Regions from separate parts of the Homo sapiens genome. Here regions 2 and 3 are each linked to region 1. Evidence: promoter capture Hi-C in 16 types of primary human blood cells and fetal thymus (Javierre and others, 2016). All regions are on one chromosome and are shown on one strand. Each heading gives the region's core, a stretch centred on a gene start or on the middle of the fragment in contact. The rest is flanking DNA. Distances are from core to core; before and after follow the strand shown. Region 1 holds the start of LINC00659 (long intergenic non-protein coding RNA 659). Region 2 has its middle 9.1 kb from the start of MIR133A2. Region 3 holds the start of BHLHE23 (basic helix-loop-helix family member e23).

Region 1 (2,700 bases), core at 43-2,542:
CAAATAGACCAGGGACCAAGCCATCAGACAGGCCGGGGACCACGCCATCAGACAGGCTGGGGACCACACCTTCAGACAGGCTGGGGACCACACCATCAAATAGACCAGGGACCAAGCCATCAGACAGGCCGGGGACCACACCATCAGACAGGCTGGGGACCACACCATCAGACAGACCGGGGACCATGCCATCAGACAGGCCGGGGACCACGCCATCAGACAGGCCGGGGACCACGCCATCAGACAGACTGGGGACCACGCCATCAGACAGGCCGGGGACCATGCCATCAGACAGGCTGGGGACCACGCCATCAGGCAGGCTGGGGACCACGCCATCAGACATGCTGGGGACCACGCCATTAGATAGACTGGCCAGGGACCATGCCATCAGATAGGCTGGGGCAAAGCCATCAGACAGGTGGAGGTCCATGCCATGGGGCATGAGGTGGTGTCTGTCACCTGGTCCGGGAGCACAGTGTTGCCCATCCGTGCCACCTCCCTGAGGCCCTGGCAAGCATCATTCTCTAATGCAGACAGATGGCTGGGGCGCCAGCAGGAGCCAGACTGCCGCGGAGCAGGAACTGGGCAACTAAGGGTGATTTGGGCCGTAGAGAAGTGATTGATGTGGACAAATGGAGTCTGCAATGCAGGCCCCACGCCACCCTGGCTCCCTGTGCGAACCCAGGGCTCTGCTGCCCTGGCGGGGCTGACTCCATGGACGAGGTGGCTCATGTAGGGCTGGCTGGAAGTAATCATGTCACCCCCTGCAATCATGCCCCCAGGAGATTAGAATAGGACCCTGATCCCTCGTTTCTGTCCTATCCCCTCCTTTCCGTCCCATCTCCTCCTTTCTGCCTCATCTCCTCCTTCCTGCCTCATCTCCTCCTTCCTGCCTCATCTCCTTCCTGCCTCATCTCCTCCTTCCTGCCTCATCTCCTCCTTCCTGTCCCATTTCCTCCTTCCAGTCCCATCTCCTCCTTCCAGTCCTATCTCCTTCCTGCTCCCATCTCTTCCTTCCTGTCCCATTTCCTCCTTCCCGTTCCACCTCCCTGTTCCCATCTCCTCCTCCTGTCCCGCCCCCTCCTTCCTGTCCCGCCCCTCCTTCCTGTCCCACCCTCTCCTTCCTGTCCTGCCCCTCCTTCCTGTCCCGCCCCCTCCTTCCTGTCCCGCCCCTCCTTCCTGTCCCACCCCCTCCTTTCTGTACCTGTTGACCTCATCTGGGCTGCAGTTGGTGACTGCTCGAAGGGGTGGGAGGAACAGTATAAAGTCCTGTCCCCTTCCTGCCTTCAAGGGCACCCCTGAAGGACCATATCCACTGTGGACCCCCTTGGGATCAGCCGAGGTCTGTAGAGGTGACATTGCAGCCCAGCACCTCCCTCCTCCGCCCTGCCCTCCTCTGTCCTCCTTCCACAGGTGTGGCCAAGGGCACTGCCCAGTTGGCCTGTGACCCCCAGCTGAGGCTGCTTCCTGGGCAGCTGACTTCAAGTTTGTGACCTGAGCTCTCCAGGCCCCCGAGCGGCTGGTGCCTTGGCCCTGCAGTTCTGCGGCCAAGACTCCTCCTCTGGGATCTCGTCTTACCCTGCTGCGGGTGCCAGGGCTGCATGAAGCAAGGGCGAAAGTCCCCTTCGCCCGGGCGCTGCCCTCTGCCTGCTGTCCCCTGTGCTCCTGTTCCCCGTGGCTGCCCAGGGACAGGTGTGTGGGATGGAGGACGCGGGAGAGGCTGAGTCCTCCCCAGTGGACCCCCAGATGCAGACCCTGAGGCAAGGGAGAGTGAGAAAGTGAAGGAAAGAACACAGCTGGAAATGCAACCAAGAAGGAACCCCAGCCCGGACCACTGTGAGCAAGGAGAGCCGAGCCCCGGGGAGCCCTGAGACAGTGTGGGAGTGGAGGCCTGGGGCGCCTCCAGGCAAGGCAGCGGGATGTCTATGCCCCAAGCCCTGCCAGTCGTGGATGGAGACGCACACTTTAGTGCGGGCTCCAGAGACAGAGGGAGCCCCAGGCCGAGAGCTGTGGGTGCTGGGCAGGTGGGCATTGGCCAGCATTGCCCCCACTCATGGCGGGTCCACCTTAATTCGACGGGTGTGACACTCTCCTCACACATGTGCACATTCAAGAGGCAACTGTCTGTTTCTATAACTGGGTGCATTTCGGTCTGGAGCCGTCGAGCCGGGTGGTGGCCATGAATCCCAGGCAACTTGGGGGGCCCAATCCAGGGTTGCCTTTTGGGGGCCTTGGGGCGGCTAGTGCAGTTCCACATGCTGTTAAGGACCTTGAGATGGGAGATTATTCTGGATGGTCAGGGTGGGCACAGTTTAATCACAGCCCCTCTAAGAGGGACTGGGAGGGTCAGGGTCAGAGGAGGAGAGGGGACGACGGAAGGGAGAGAGAGGCTGGGAGATGCCGTGCAGCCAAGGAGGGCAGGAACCTCTAGAAACCACAAAAGGCGAGGACACAATCTCTCCCCTGAGGCAGAGACCCAGGGCTGCCCCGCACAGTCGCGCAGATCGTGTACTGCCCTGCTCCTGGGGCTCATTCACACAGGTTGCCATGGCTGTGGGGTCCCTGGGGCTGGGCTATCTGCCAACCTGGGGGACGCTGCACCCTGTTTTCTGTCCTGTCTACTCCAGCTTTTCACACTCTCTGTTGCCCTTGTCCTTGGGCATCTCAGTGACTCGAAGGAATTGGGTCTTGAGACACAGC
Region 2 (2,700 bases), core at 34-2,533, 200 kb after region 1:
CGAGAAGCTTATTGACGAAGCTTCACTTAGGTACGGAGGCCCTGGAGGGGCCCTCCTCATGCCCCTGCCCACCTTCCTTGGAAAGCACCCCAGGTAGTCAGGCACCTGCCCCGAGTCACAGGAGGCACCCCCCAGCCCCCCACCTGGGTTCAGTCTCCACTGAACGCAGCATTTCTCCCAGGGGTCTCTTTCACTGTGTCCACAATGCAATCCTGGAAAATGTACAAAATTGACTGTGTACATTGACACACAGATGGTCACCCAGCGTGTCTTCTCCTCCAATGAGGAAACGTGTATTACAGCTGCTATAAAGATACACCCTCTATAGGAAAGTGGCCCCAAACGTCCCAGTCTGCAGTCCACAGCGCCATACCTGCCTCACGTGCCTGTCCCCCGGGCAGCTTGGGCAGTGCCAGCCTTGCCTCTGCGCTGTTCACAGAGCCTGCTTTCTGTCGCTGGCGTTGGCACTCACGTCTTTCTGTTTTCACTCTTAGAAATAAAGTAAGGTCAGAGCACAGGAAAGCAGCTCACCACCCACCCACCACTGTATCGAGACGGCGGGGCTGCGGGAGTCGGCCCACCAGGTGGGAGGGCAGTGCACGGTGGGTGACAGACGCTCACGCGGGGCCTGGCATCAGCACACTGTGGAGGCAACGGTGCAGGGTGGCCTCACTCTGCCTGCCCAGCGTCCCTCCTCCTTTCATTATCAGGTCCCTGGTTTCAATCCGGGGAGCCTGGGTAGTTCTAGGGGATGGCTTTCTCCCACCCCAAGTGGTCAAGTGACCCAAGCCTGGCCAGCGAGTGCCCATCTTGGGACCTTTGCTGGGTTTCTTGAAATGAATCTCTCTCGTGCTTGCTCTTTTGGTGTCTTTTTCCCTCTGTCTCTCTCTTTCTCTTTGTCTCTTTCCCTCCTCTCTGTCTCTTTCTCTCACTCTGTCTCTTTCTGTCTGTGCGTCTCTCACTCTCTGTCTCTTTCTCTCTGTCTCTCTCTGCATCTTTCTCTCCCCCTCCACCTCTCTCTCTCTCTCTCCCTCTCTCCTCCCTCTCTGTCCCACCGATTAGATATATAAGCCTGAAATCTCAGTGTCCATTTTGCTCCGCCTGCAGACAGCCTGCCAGGAGTGAAGCTAGCCCCAAGGAAAGTGGAGCTGAGCTATGGAGAAAGATTTCTGATGACATGGTTTGGGTTCTGGATCCAGCCCTATTTTCAGACCTCTTGGCCACATAAGCAAGTTGATTCATCTTCTGAGTTGAGTTTCTATCCCCAGCCAACCCAGCATGGCAGGAGTGACAGCAACCAGCCCCATGTGGCTCCTGCAGCCCTGCCTCTGCCCTCTGCACCCTGTGGAGGCTGAGACTCTCGAATGCCCATCAGCAGGCCAATGGTGTCGTCATAGAATGGAGCCCTTCTCAGCAAAGAAAAGGAACAAAACCTATGGAAACACACAACAGCGCAGAAGAGTCTTAAAATGATGTTGAAAGAGGCCAGGCACACAGCCCACACACTGCATGATTCCATTTAGAAAGTTCCAGCTGAAACAGATCTGATCCATGCTGGCTAGTCCATGATTGCTGGGACAGAGGAAGGGGATGACTGCCAAGGTATATGAGGGAAGTTTTTGAACTGATGGAATCTTCCAGATCTTGGTTGTGATGGTGGTTGCATGAGTGTAAAACTCAACATTTGTTAAAACTCTACAAACTTCACACTTAAAATCTGTGCATTTTTTTTGTATGTAAATTATATGACAACCAAGCTGACCCTGAGAGAGCACGCAGGACGTGGGGTCCACCCGATGAGACACACCTGGCCAGAGACAGGACGATCTGAGCTGCAAAGATGATAATAATTGCAGTGGACTGAGACCTACCAAACACGTTTCGGTTCATGAATCCATAATGATACATATTTCTTTTAAATTCAAAGGCAGTCACCATTTATTAACTTACCAGATTACAAAAATAATGATGTAGACCTGAGTTCATTCTGCTAGAAAGCCTGCTGGTCTGGTCTTCCTGGCTGCCAGCACCCCTACCTTCTACAAAACGAGTGGGCTTTTTCTTCATTTCACCTGGTGGAGAAGAGAACTTCAGCCCACAGGAGGTAGTCTGCTTCTTTGAAGTGTTTTCCAGCAGCGTAGATCTCATGCATCAGACCCTCCACGCAGACGATGCCGTATTGACCAGGAACTCCAGCAGTGGAAGAGCGCTCTCCAAGGTGGCCCGCTTCCTGTTGGTGTTGCCGGAGCCGTGCCTGGAGACCTGCTCCTCTACCGACTTCGTGTTCAGGCCCCCGACACAGTGCGGTGTCTGCTTCCACGTCCTGAAGGCACGTTCACTGAAGCCTTGCTGAGATGGACAGATGTGCCCCTGAAGACACAGTAAAGGTGAACAAGCTGCAAGCCCACACCGGGGACCCCCTGCTGCCAATGGCCAGGCCAGTCTGGGCTCCCAGGTGCGTACGACGAAGTGCCTCTGTCCCAGTGCCACAGTGACTCGGATCCCAGCTCTGGGCTCTGTATTCCTTGCGGTGGTGCAAAGCTTTCTCATAACTCAGCTTCCCCCTTGGCTTTCAAAGCATCTTTTTAAAAACTCCTGTCTCAGGCACCTGATCTTTAGTTCTGTGAAATCCTTCACTGCTCCATAAGGGGCTTCTGGTGCAGCAGGAACCTTCTCTTCCCTTCGATGCCGTCCACAGTT
Region 3 (2,800 bases), core at 222-2,721, 230 kb before region 1:
GCCCAAACACAGCGGCCTCCTCCACACCAGGTATCCTCAATTCCCGGTCTGTGCATCAGCCCCGAAGGCGGGGTGGGGTCCCAGGACAGCGCCTCAGACAGACGCTTCCATCCTCGGGGCCCCTGCGCTCCTGGCGGGCGTGTGCTGGGGGTGAGGCCGGTGCTGCAGGACGCGCAGCCAGACAGGCCGCCAGCCCGGCAGAGGCTGCCTCAGACCCATTCCCCTCCGCCAGGACAAAGGCCTGAGTTTCCCACGGAGACTTATCCATGCATCTGTCTCCTCACACCCCGCACCTGGCAGGGAACCACCGGACAGGCCGGTCACTGCTGCGTTCCCAGAACCTTCCAGACAGCACATCCGCCCCACACACGTGCAGCTCCCACTCCCCTCCCGGGGCTGCGCACACTGCCCCATCGCTGTGGCTCCTCCTGGGGCGGAGCCTGGAGAACAGGGAGGGTATGCGGCCCTTCCCAGGTCACACAGAAGGGCCCGACGGGCCGCTCCACCTCGTGCCATAGGCCAGGGTGGCCCAGTCTCCCACCCAAGCCAGGACCGGAGAAGCCACTATCCCTCAGCACACTCTAGCCTCAGCACTCGGCCGGGCCTCCAGGCAGGTTCCCACCTGGGAGAAGGGCTGGGGTTCTGGCCTTCATGCGGGGTTGGAAGAGGACTGAAAAGGCGAGTCCGAGGCTGGCCACATTCCCATCCAGTGTGGCTGGACCCCAGGGGTTCGGAGGCTCCGGGAAAGCCCACCAAGCCTCACGCGTTTCGCTGATAGATGCCCAGGAAGCGGCTGGCAGGGAAGAGGCGGTCCTGCAGCTCACAGAGCTCCCCTCCCACCCCCGGGGAGCCCCAGGCCGCGCTGCCCTCCACCTTCCCGCCCTCCCCGGCCTGCAACGCTCGTGGCGTTTTTCAACAGGTTCTAGAAACTCCCTCTCACTCTGCCCCTCAAGCCTGGCCACAGGGCGCCCCGAGCAGGGAGTGTGCGGGCTCCGGGTACACGCTGCGCCGCGGCTGCACCAGAGCGCCCACGACCCTGACCCCGACCCGAAGCGGCCCCTCAGCGGGACAGGGTGTTGGCGCTGGCGCTGCTGCTATTGCGGCGCGCCCCCCCGCTCTGGCCCCTGCGTGTCGCCAGGGACTCTTGCGCTAGGGTCAGACTCAAAGACGGACCGAGGCGGGTGCCCACCTGGGACGCGTGCGTTTGGTGGCGGAATCCCCGGGGCGGCCGGAGGCGGCGGCCGGGGAGTCGAGAAGCAAGTACTAGCGCTCCAGGACCGCGCGCGCCGCCCCGCGCCGCCCCGCGCCGCCCCTCGGTCCAGAGCCCCCACCCCCGGCCTGTGAGCCTGCGGCGCTGGTGGAGCCCGGCTCCAGGAAGAGGAGCTCACCCGGTCCCCCCTGATTGGACAGCAGCGAGGTCCCACCGGGCGCCTCCGCGGCTTAAAACCGAAGCGGGGGCGAGGGGGAGGTAGAGCCCGCCCCCTGCGCGTCGCGGCTGGGAGGGAGAGGAGGTGGGAGAGAAGGAAGAGGCGGAGGAGGCAGCGGGCGCCGAGGCTCTGGGACCCGCAGGCAAGCCAGACCGACGCGCAGAGCCGGGAGCCTCATCGCAGCGGCAGCGGCAGCGGCGGGCTCGGGCCGGCCTCGGGGGCTGCTCACCCACATGAGCATCCGCCCACCCGGCGAGCCCCCGAGCCCAGGCGGCGCGGCCATGGCCGAGCTCAAGTCGCTGTCGGGGGACGCGTACCTGGCACTAAGCCACGGCTACGCGGCGGCGGCTGCGGGTCTCGCCTACGGGGCGGCGCGAGAACCCGAAGCGGCCCGCGGCTACGGCACTCCGGGCCCGGGCGGCGACCTCCCCGCGGCGCCTGCACCTCGCGCCCCAGCTCAGGCGGCGGAGAGCAGCGGCGAACAGAGCGGGGACGAGGACGACGCCTTCGAGCAGCGGCGGCGGCGGCGCGGGCCAGGGAGCGCGGCGGACGGGCGGCGGCGGCCGCGAGAGCAGCGGTCTCTGCGGCTCAGCATCAACGCGCGCGAGCGGCGGCGCATGCACGACCTAAACGACGCGCTGGACGGGCTGCGAGCCGTCATCCCCTACGCGCACAGCCCGTCGGTGCGCAAGCTCTCCAAGATCGCCACGCTGCTGCTCGCCAAGAACTATATCCTCATGCAGGCGCAGGCCCTGGACGAGATGCGGCGCCTGGTGGCCTTCCTCAACCAGGGCCAGGGCCTGGCCGCGCCCGTAAACGCCGCGCCCTTGACGCCCTTCGGCCAGGCCACTGTGTGCCCCTTCTCCGCAGGCGCCGCCCTGGGGCCCTGCCCTGACAAGTGCGCCGCCTTCTCCGGGACGCCCTCCGCGCTTTGCAAACACTGTCACGAGAAGCCGTGACCGCGCGGGCCCCCGGCCCTCCCGCACGCGTCCTCCGATCGCCCCTGTGACTGTCTCTCTGCCCGGACAGGAAAGGCCTGGAGGGACCCTGCAGACCAGGAGGAGGGGGCCCGACTTCGCTTCCAGCCTGTGCGCGGTGGACAGTTTAGCGCAGCGGGAAGCGCCAAGGCCGTCGGGGCGCGGGATTGAGCTCGAGAGCCGGACGCTGGACTCTGCGCCCGGGAACTCGCGGCACCCACTGGGTATTGTCGGGACCCAGCAAGTCTAGGAACGGGGGTGGGTAGAGCATCCTTCGGGCACTGCCGTTCGTCCCCAAAAGAAGACCACCGCGGGGTCCCAGGGCCACGGCGAGGACGGGCACTGGTCAGATTCCGGACAGGCGGTCCTGGCCCCGGGCGCACGAAAGGTGGAGAC

The links. The method cuts DNA at HindIII sites, captures the fragments that hold promoters and counts their contacts. A CHiCAGO score of 5 or more calls a contact.
Region 2: a contact is called between a fragment that was not itself captured here and the fragment with the promoter of LINC00659 in region 1, in 2 of 17 cell types (monocytes and neutrophils). The highest score is 6.4, in monocytes.
Region 3: the fragment with the promoter of BHLHE23 here is called in contact with the fragment with the promoter of LINC00659 in region 1 in 2 of 17 cell types (activated CD4 T cells and total B cells); the score reaches 5.7 in activated CD4 T cells.

Annotation. Positions count from the first base shown.
Region 1 is chr20:62,775,448-62,778,147 of GRCh38, reverse strand. It overlaps LINC00659 (long intergenic non-protein coding RNA 659), which reads left to right and starts at 1,292. Exons shown (of 3, transcript NR_046225.1): 1 at 1,292-1,342. RefSeq lists a silencer at 1,824-1,985. The HindIII fragment of the contact is 9,640 bases long and covers 1-2,700 here.
Region 2 is chr20:62,572,665-62,575,364 of GRCh38, reverse strand. It overlaps the pseudogene RPL7P3. Among named protein-coding and RNA genes, the nearest start is that of MIR133A2, 9.1 kb to the right of the region's middle. The HindIII fragment of the contact is 2,521 bases long and covers 23-2,543 here.
Region 3 is chr20:63,005,635-63,008,434 of GRCh38, reverse strand. BHLHE23 (basic helix-loop-helix family member e23) reads left to right here and starts at 1,471. Exons shown (of 1, transcript NM_080606.4): 1 at 1,471-2,508. The coding sequence starts at 1,661. The coding sequence ends at 2,386. RefSeq lists enhancers at 339-1,046, 1,047-1,752. The HindIII fragment of the contact is 10,733 bases long and covers 1-2,800 here.